Linked DNA regions of Homo sapiens: all the other regions are linked to region 2. Evidence: promoter capture Hi-C in 16 types of primary human blood cells and fetal thymus (Javierre and others, 2016). All regions are on one chromosome and are shown on one strand. The core of a region is centred on a gene start or on the middle of the fragment in contact, and the rest is flanking DNA. Distances in the headings are between cores, read along the strand shown.

Region 1 (2,700 bases), core at 30-2,529, 560 kb after region 2:
AGGCCAGCAACATAGTGAGAACTCATCTCTACAAAAAGTAAAAAAAAATGAGCTGGGCACAGTGGCAGGCGCCTGTAGTCCCAGCTACTCAGGAGGCTGAGGTGGGAGGATTGCTGGAACCTGGGAGGTCGAGGCTGCAGTGAGCCATGATCGTGCCACTGAACTCCAGCCTGGGTGACAGAGTGAGACCCTGTCGCAAAAAACAAAATAAAATAATGAAGGCTATAGGCTCAGAGAGGGAAAGCGATAGGCCCCGAGTGACACAGCAAAGCTGGAACTACGACTCTGGCCCCAGTCTTCAAGCTCGGCACTCTTTCTACTTTGTCTTTCCCATAACTGTCGACTCACAAAGCCATGGCCATGAAAAAATTAGATTCATGGCTGGGTGCGGTGGCTCACACCTGTAATCCCAACATTTTGGGAGGCTGAGGCAGGTGGATCATTTGAGGTCAGGAGTTCAAAAAAAAAGAAAAAATTACAGATTCATTTTAAAAGTGTAATGTGGAAGCTGAGAAGGGAGGTAAAGCAGAGGCATAACAGGCCAATTTTTTTTAAATCTTTTTTTTTTGCTGTTGTATTATTTTTCTTTTCCGTTCTGTTCTTTTTCTTTGTTGTTGCTGTTGTTTTTTGTTTTGTTTCAGATGGAGTTTCGCTCTTGTTGCCCAGGCTGGAGTGCAATGGCGCAATCTCCGCTCACCACAACCTCCACCTCCCAGGATCAAGAGATTCTCCTGCCTCAGCCTCCCAAGTAGCTGGGATCACAGGCGCGTGCCACCACACCTGGCTAATTTTGTATTTTTAGTAGAGACCAGGTTTCTCCATGTTGGTCAGGCTGGTCTCGAACTCCCGACCTCAGGTGATCTGCCCACCTCGGCCTCCCAAAGTGCTGGGATTACAGGCGTGAGCCACCGCGCCTGGCCTATTGTATTGTTTTCTATAGCTGTAACAAATTACAGCAAATTTAGTAGCTTAAAACAACACAGATTTGGCGGGGTGCGGTGACTCACGCCTGTAATCCCAGCACTTTGGGAGGCCGAGGTGGGCGGATCAGGAGGTCAGGAGATGGAGACCATCCTGGCTAACATGGTGAAACCCTGTCTCTACTAAAAATACAAAAAAAAAAAAAAAATTAGCCGGGTCGGGTGGTACACGCCTGTAGTCCCAGCTACTCGGGAGGCTGAGGCAGGAGAATCGCTTGAACCCAGGAGGCAGAGGTTGCAGTGAGCTGAGATCGCACCACTGCATTCCAGCCTGGGTGACAGAGCAAGACTCTGTCTCAAAAAAAAAAAAAAAACCCACAGATTTATCATATTACAATTCCGTAGGTCTGAAGTCTGACATGAGTCTCACTGGGCTAAAATCGAGGTGTTTCTGTTGGACAAGAGATTGTTGTAAAACAACAACAAAAAATAATAAATAAATGAAATCAAATCAGGGTGTCTTCAGGGCTGTGTTCCCTCCTGGAGGCTCTAGGGGACAGTCTGTTTCACTCTCTCTTCCAGCTTCCAGAGGCCCCTCCCTCCATCTTCAGAGTCAGTCACACTGCATTTCTGACCATTCTTCCACAATCACATCTCCCTCTGATCAAAATCAGAAATAAGTCTCTGATTTTATTTTATTTTTTTCTTTTTGAGATGGAGTCTTGCTCTGTTGCCCAGGCCGGAGTGCAGTGGCGCGATCTTGGCTCACTGTAACCTCCGCCTCCCGGGTTCAAGCGATTCTCCTGTCTCAGCCTCCTGAGTAGCTGGGATTACAGGCATGCGCCACCACGCCTGGCTAATTTGTGTATATTTAATAGAGATGGGGTTTCACCATGTTGGCCAGGCTGGTCTCGAACTCCTGACCTCAGGTGATCTGCCTGCCTCGGCCTTCCAAAGTGCTGGGATGGCCGAGTCTCTGATTTTAAAGACCAACATGATTACATTGTGCCCCCCTGGATAATCCAAGACCACCCGCATCTCAAGGTCCTTAATCACACCTGCAAAATCCCTTCACCATGTAAACTAAGACATTCACATGTTCCAGGGGTTAGGGTGTGGGAATTTTAGGACATCAGAATAATGGCCATTATTCTGCCTACCACTTATGAAACATCCATATACATAAATATTCATAGAAAAATAGTCTAAGATAGTATTACAAAACAAAATATCCTTATAACCACCACCCAAACCAAGAAATAAACATGGTCAGAATCTCAATGATACCCACCTTCCCCCAATCATGTTTTTTTGGGCCTGGAATTTTTTTGTCCATCTATTAACTTTCAACATTTTTGTCACTTTGTTTTATGTGCATTTCCTATACATTGCATATGGCTAGATTTTAAAAGTCATTTGGTTTGACAAGCTCTGACTTTTGTTTGTTTTTGAGACAGGGTATCTCCCTGTCATCCAGGATGGAGTGCAGTAGCACAATTGTAGCTCACTGTAGCCTCAAACTCCTGGGCTCAAGTGATCCTCCAGCCTCAGCCTTCTGGATAGTTGGGACTACAGGTGTGCACCACCATGCTCAGCTGATTTTTAAACTTTTTGTAGAGAAGATATCTCATTATGTTGCCCAGACTGGTCGTGAACTCTTGGCCTTATATAATCCTCCCACCTCAGCTTCCCAAAGTGCTGGCATTACAGGCATGAGACGGCACGCCCAGCAAACCTCTGACTTATAATAGGTTAATTCAGCCTGTTCATATTTATTTCA
Region 2 (2,700 bases), core at 113-2,612:
CTTCTTTTGTATATTAAGTTCATATTAGTACATCAGCCCTTGATCAAAGCTAGAAGCTTCCTATTGGATTGTAATTCTGAAAAGGCATTGTTGTAGGGTTAACCAAAGTAACAAGGTTCAAGCATTCATTACATACATATTTTTAGAACACCTCCTTCATGCCAAGGTCCCTGCCCGTTGCTGAGGACAGAACAGGCAGATGTCATCCCTGCCTGGTCTTGTGGCTTTCTTGTGACCTGCTTTGATAGAGGGTTCACACCAGCCCTGTCTAGGCTTGCTTTCTCCAAGTAGTCATATTTTTCAGATTGAAATAATGCACTTTGCAGTAGACACCTGTCAGGCTTGTGGCTGCCTGGAACCTTTTGAATACTCATCCTAGACCTGGAGATTTTCCCTACAATTCCTGCCTCCCTAAGGCAGAATCCAGAGCTCAGTTTCCCATCCCCTCCTGCAGCTGGGGGACCTAGGGGTTGCCAGTTGGTGCAATCACATAATTCTTTCAGAAAAGAGCGACCCAGGATACAGGTTTCATGAAGAATCTGTTTTCAAGAGGGGATGAGGGTGGAAAATTCTGGTTTTCCAGGGCAGCCTTAATGAAGCTTTTGGCATCCAGGGTCCAGCAGTGTGAGCTGTGGGGGTGTCACTGCAGCTGGCCAACGGAATGACTTGTTTATGACTGTGCAGACTGTAGGCATCTCTGGCTATATCAGACATAGTAAGCTACCTAAGATTCTCAATTACTTATCTTCTAAAACTAGTAAGAGTGAGTTCTGTTCTTTGCAAAGAACTGTGACTAATACATATACTGAACTACTGTTACCTGCCAAAATCCAGGTTGACACATTCCTACCTTACATAAACTTCATAAAAATGATGTAAGGGCCGTGTAGTGGCTCATGCCTGTAATCCCAGCACTGTGGGAGGCTGAGGCGGGAGGATCACGTGAGCTCAAGAGTTCCACACCAGCCTGGACAATATAGTGAGATCCCCGTCTCCAGTATTTAAAAAATCTTTTAAGGTACGAATTATTATACATTTTACAGCTGAAAACACTGAGACTCAAAAAGACACTTAATTCATTCTACAAATATTTATTAAAGCCCAACTGTGTGCCAGCCACCAGGCATAGAATAGGGAACAAAATAGTTTCCCTGCAACTATATAAAAAGAATGGCATATTGTACTTAAATGCCTCCTTGCCAAAATAAGAGGCACAGGACAACAGCTGTCTGGAGATGACCTCAAGCCAGTCAGGCCCCATTTTAAATATAGAAACCCCTAAGAATAGCCGCCAGTGCTCCAGACTCAACAGGTGATTGGCCCAGAGAGGGGAGGTGACCCCAGGCCCCAGGAAAGGGAGCGAGGACAGCGCTGGTTCCCGGCTCCCCGCACCATCATGGCTTTGCCTCTGAGGCCCCTGACCCGGGGCTTGGCCAGCGCTGCCAAAGGAGGCCACGGAGGAGCAGGAGGTGAGTGGGGAACGGGCGGATCCGGGGGCTCCCCTACCCTGCCCACCTGTTCACAGGCCCGCCGCCCCAGGACCGCCGCGCTCACCCCGCTCCGTCCGCAGCTCGTACCTGGCGTCTGCTGACCTTCGTGCTGGCGCTGCCCAGCGTGGCCCTCTGCACCTTCAACTCCTATCTCCACTCGGGCCACCGCCCGCGCCCCGAGTTCCGTCCCTACCAACACCTCCGCATCCGCACCAAGGTACGCGGGACGGGCGCGCGGGCGGCACGGGGGTGCTGCGGGGGCGGGGGGGGGTGCTGCGGGGGCGGGGGGGGGTGCTGCGGGGGGGGGGTCGCGCGGGGCGCGGACTCCGGACTCACGGCGCTCACGCGCGCTCCCTCCCCCGCTCTCTCCACAGCCCTACCCCTGGGGGGACGGCAACCACACTCTGTTCCACAATAGCCACGTGAACCCTCTGCCCACGGGCTACGAACACCCCTGAGGCCCCGGACGCCCCCGGACACAATAAAGGTGTGAAGCTTCGAGTCTGCGGCTCTGTGGGGAGGGCGGGGCCACGGGGAGCGCGCCCAGAGGCGCCCGCTCCGCGCATGCGCCCAGCTTGGTAAGCGCTCCTGCTCCGCGCATGCGCCTAGCGCGGTGGGCGCTCCACGTGCTTTTCCCACGCCGCTGATACGGAGGTGCTCGAGGGAGCCTCCTCCACTCACAGGTAGGCGATCCCAGCTCCCTGTCTCTCACCTGGTAATAATGAGGCCTCCCTCTCACACACACCTATTAATAATTAGGGCTCTAGGCTGTAATGGGCTTCCGCGTACACCGAATCCTCACAGTAACGCTGGGAGCAGGGTATAAATTTAGTTCACCTTCTCCCGAGGAAGACCTGAGATTCTTGGGAATTAAATGACTTGTCCAAGTTCCGGCAGCTCGGCAGAGCCCCCATGGGAGCCCAGGGCTGCAGATCCTGAAGTCCCACTTCTTGCCTGACACCTGAGCTGCTGGTGTCTGTGAATCCCAGCTCTCTGGATTTCAGACGGAGGCTCCACAGTCCTGTGTGTGAGGCCTTGGGACCTAATGCTGGATTTGGAATCTTTTGATAATTCTCTATAATCTTTCTTTCTTTTTTTTTTTTTTTTTTTGAGACGGAGTCTCGCTCTGTCGCCCAGGCCGGACTGCGGACTGCAGTGGTGCAATCTCGGCTCACTGCAAGCTCCGCTTCCCGGGTTCACGCCATTCTCC
Region 3 (2,700 bases), core at 43-2,542, 540 kb after region 2:
GCTGCAGTGAGCCAGGATCGCGCCACTGTACTCCAGCCTGGGTGACAGAGCGAGACTCCTTCTCAAAAATAAATAAATAAATAAAGCCTGACAAAATCATGGCGCTCCTCCATGCATTTTCAAAAAATATCAAAAAATATCTAACTGTATAATTAGCATAAGAAAATTCCTTATAAACCTCTGACATTTCTCACGAGGCTACCTCGAGGCATTTTCAGAAATATCAAATATCAGGTTCGTTCCTCCACACAGTGTCACTGTCGTTGTTGTTTTTGGTGCCTGCTTCCTCTGCATCCTGGGCATCTGGCCCTGGGCTTGCCTCCCGGGCCCAGGAGGGGAGGGGAGTGGAGGCTTTGGAGAAGGCAGAGGCTCAGAGGCTGGACGCCTGGGTTCTGTGGAGCTCACGCCTGTCCACCCTTCCTCTCCAGGCCCCCGAAGCTTACCCTGTCTTTGAGCCAGTGCCACCTGTCCCTGAGGCAGCCCAGGGTGACACAGAGGACTCGGAGGGTGCCCCCCCACTCAAGCGCATCTGCCCAAATGCCCCTGACCCCTGAGAAGCCGGCCTGCCTGTCCTGTTGCCCCAGGGGCCCCTTTGGCTTTTTACAAATAAAGACCCTTTTGTAATTTTGTGTCATGTCATTTCCCCGTCAGGGCTGGGGAGGGTCTTTGGAGACAGTTTTGTCTCATGCACCATTGCTCAGATGTGGTCACTGAGGCTCTGAGAGGACCTTCCTGTAGTGACACCACAAGGCAGAGTGGGGTGGGGGCTTGAGCCAGGACCCTGCCTCTCAGTACTTCCCAGGTCTGTCCTATCTCCCGACCTTCACCTCCTCCTCTGGGAGGCCCAGGACCCCTCTTCCTGCTCAGCCCTCGCCTGGGCCTAACAATTATCAAAACTCTGGGTAGCTAGGCCATGATTCTTTTTTTTTTTTTTTTTTTTTTGAGACACAGACTTGTTCTGTTGCCCAGGCAGGAGTGCAGTGGTGCGATCATGGCTCACTGCAGCCTTGACATCCCACCTCAGCCTCCCAAGTAGCCGGGACCACAGGTGTGTGCCACCATACTCAGCTAATTTTATTTATTTATTTATTTATTTATCACTATTTTTTTTTAGAGAGTTTTGCTCTTGTTGCCCAGGCTGGAGTGCAATGGCGCAATCTCGCCTCACTGCAAACTCTGCCTCCTGGGTTCAAGCAAGTCTCCTGCCTCAGCCTCCTGAGTAGCTGGGATTAGAGGTGCCTGCCACCACGCCCGGCTAATTTTTGTATTTTTAGTAGAGACTGGGTTTTGCCATGTTGGCCAGGCTGGTCTCAAACTCCTGACCACAAGTGATTTGCCCGCCTCGGCCTCCCAAAGTGCTGGGATTACAGGCATGAGCCACCATGCCCAGCCTGCTAATTTTATTTTTTGTAGACATGGGGTCTCGCTACATTGCCCAGGCTGGTCTTGAACTCCTGGGCTCAAGTGTTCCTCCTGCCTTGGCCTCCTAAAGTGTTGGGATTACAGGCGTGAGCCACCGCGCCCAGCCTATTCACGTTTCATACATAATAACACAGAGGCCCAGAGGGACTTGGGGGCCTGGGATGACCAACCCATTCCCTGCCCTGAAGAAGCCACTCCTCCACCTGGGATGCCTGGCCACACTTCTGGTTGGGTCTAACTTATCCCCATCTCAATCACCATCTCCTCCGAGAAGCCTTCCCTGACTCCAGGCTCAGTGAGTTTCCCCTTTTTTGAGCTCCAGCAACCCCTTGGGCTTCATTCTCCTTGTTTCATCATTTATCAGGCTGTTCTGGGATCCGTGGTTTGTGTGTCTGTCTTGTCTACGAGGCTGTGGGCTCCTGAGGGGTCTCCACACAACACTGGGAACAGGGCAGTCCCAGCAGCTGCTTCATGAATAAATGAATACATGAATGGGCTGGGGTTTTCCAGGCAGGCTTCTCTGAGGAGGTGGCATGTGAGCTGGGCTCTGAGACATGAACCTCTGTGCTAGAACTCAAGTCAGAAGCCCTGGTTCAAGTCCTGGCTCTGTTACTCCCTGAGTGGCTCTAGGCAGGCTGTTTCTACTCTCAGCCTTAGTTTGTTCATCTGAGCAATGGGAACAATAACTAGGCCTCATCTGCCCCAGGGGTTTGTGGGAAGCTTCGAGTAATATAAGGCCCTCTCACTCTGTGCCTATAGGGTCATGTATATTGGCCCTATTTTTATTTTTAATAAAGAAAGATACTGAGGTTCAGAGAGGACCAAATTGGAACTTTAAAGAAGCATTAAAAACTGTAGGCTAGGTGTGGTGGCTCACACCTGTAATCCCAGGCCTTTGAGAGGCACAGGTGGGAGGACTGCTTGAGGCCAGGAGTTTGAGACCAGCTTGAGCAACAAAGCAAGACAAAAATGAAAAAATTAGCCAGGCATACTGGTGCGCGCCTGTAGTCCAAGCTTCTTGGGAGGCTGAGGTGGGAAGATTGCTTGAGCCCGGGAAGTTGAGGCTGCAGTGAGTGATGATTGCACCACTGTGCTCAAATCTGGGCAACAAAGCAAGACCCTGTGTCTAAACAAACAAAGGAAATGTAAGGATGCTTCCGACAGCAGCTGCAGTGGTGTTGGTGGAGCCAGTGCTGTCCAGGGAAGCCAGGCTTGCTGCAATGTAGTGTAACTGTTTCTTATCACTGCTGTAACAAATTGCCACACATATAGGGGCTC

The links. Contacts are between HindIII fragments. The CHiCAGO score rates a contact against its expected background, and 5 or more counts as called.
Region 1: a contact is called between a fragment that was not itself captured here and the fragment with the promoter of COX6A2 in region 2, in 4 of 17 cell types (naive CD8 T cells, activated CD4 T cells, naive CD4 T cells and 1 more). The highest score is 8.6, in naive CD8 T cells.
Region 3: a contact is called between a fragment that was not itself captured here and the fragment with the promoter of COX6A2 in region 2, in 1 of 17 cell types (monocytes). The highest score is 5.1, in monocytes.

What each region holds. Positions count from the first base shown.
Region 1 is chr16:30,866,724-30,869,423 of GRCh38, reverse strand. It overlaps a transcript of BCL7C not described here. Among named protein-coding and RNA genes, the nearest start is that of MIR4519, 7.2 kb to the left of the region's middle. The HindIII fragment of the contact is 4,401 bases long and covers 1-2,700 here.
Region 2 is chr16:31,427,022-31,429,721 of GRCh38, reverse strand. It overlaps COX6A2 (cytochrome c oxidase subunit 6A2), which reads left to right and starts at 1,362. Exons shown (of 3, transcript NM_005205.4): 1 at 1,362-1,469; 2 at 1,571-1,707; 3 at 1,865-1,991. The coding sequence starts at 1,397. The coding sequence ends at 1,948. The HindIII fragment of the contact is 1,386 bases long and covers 602-1,987 here.
Region 3 is chr16:30,885,719-30,888,418 of GRCh38, reverse strand. BCL7C (BAF chromatin remodeling complex subunit BCL7C) reads left to right here. Exons shown (of 6, transcript NM_004765.4): 6 at 429-624. The coding sequence ends at 554. The region is part of intron 2 of MIR762HG (MIR762 host gene); the gene reads right to left. Among named protein-coding and RNA genes, the nearest start is that of MIR762, 6.8 kb to the left of the region's middle. RefSeq lists an enhancer at 462-963. The HindIII fragment of the contact is 1,704 bases long and covers 441-2,144 here.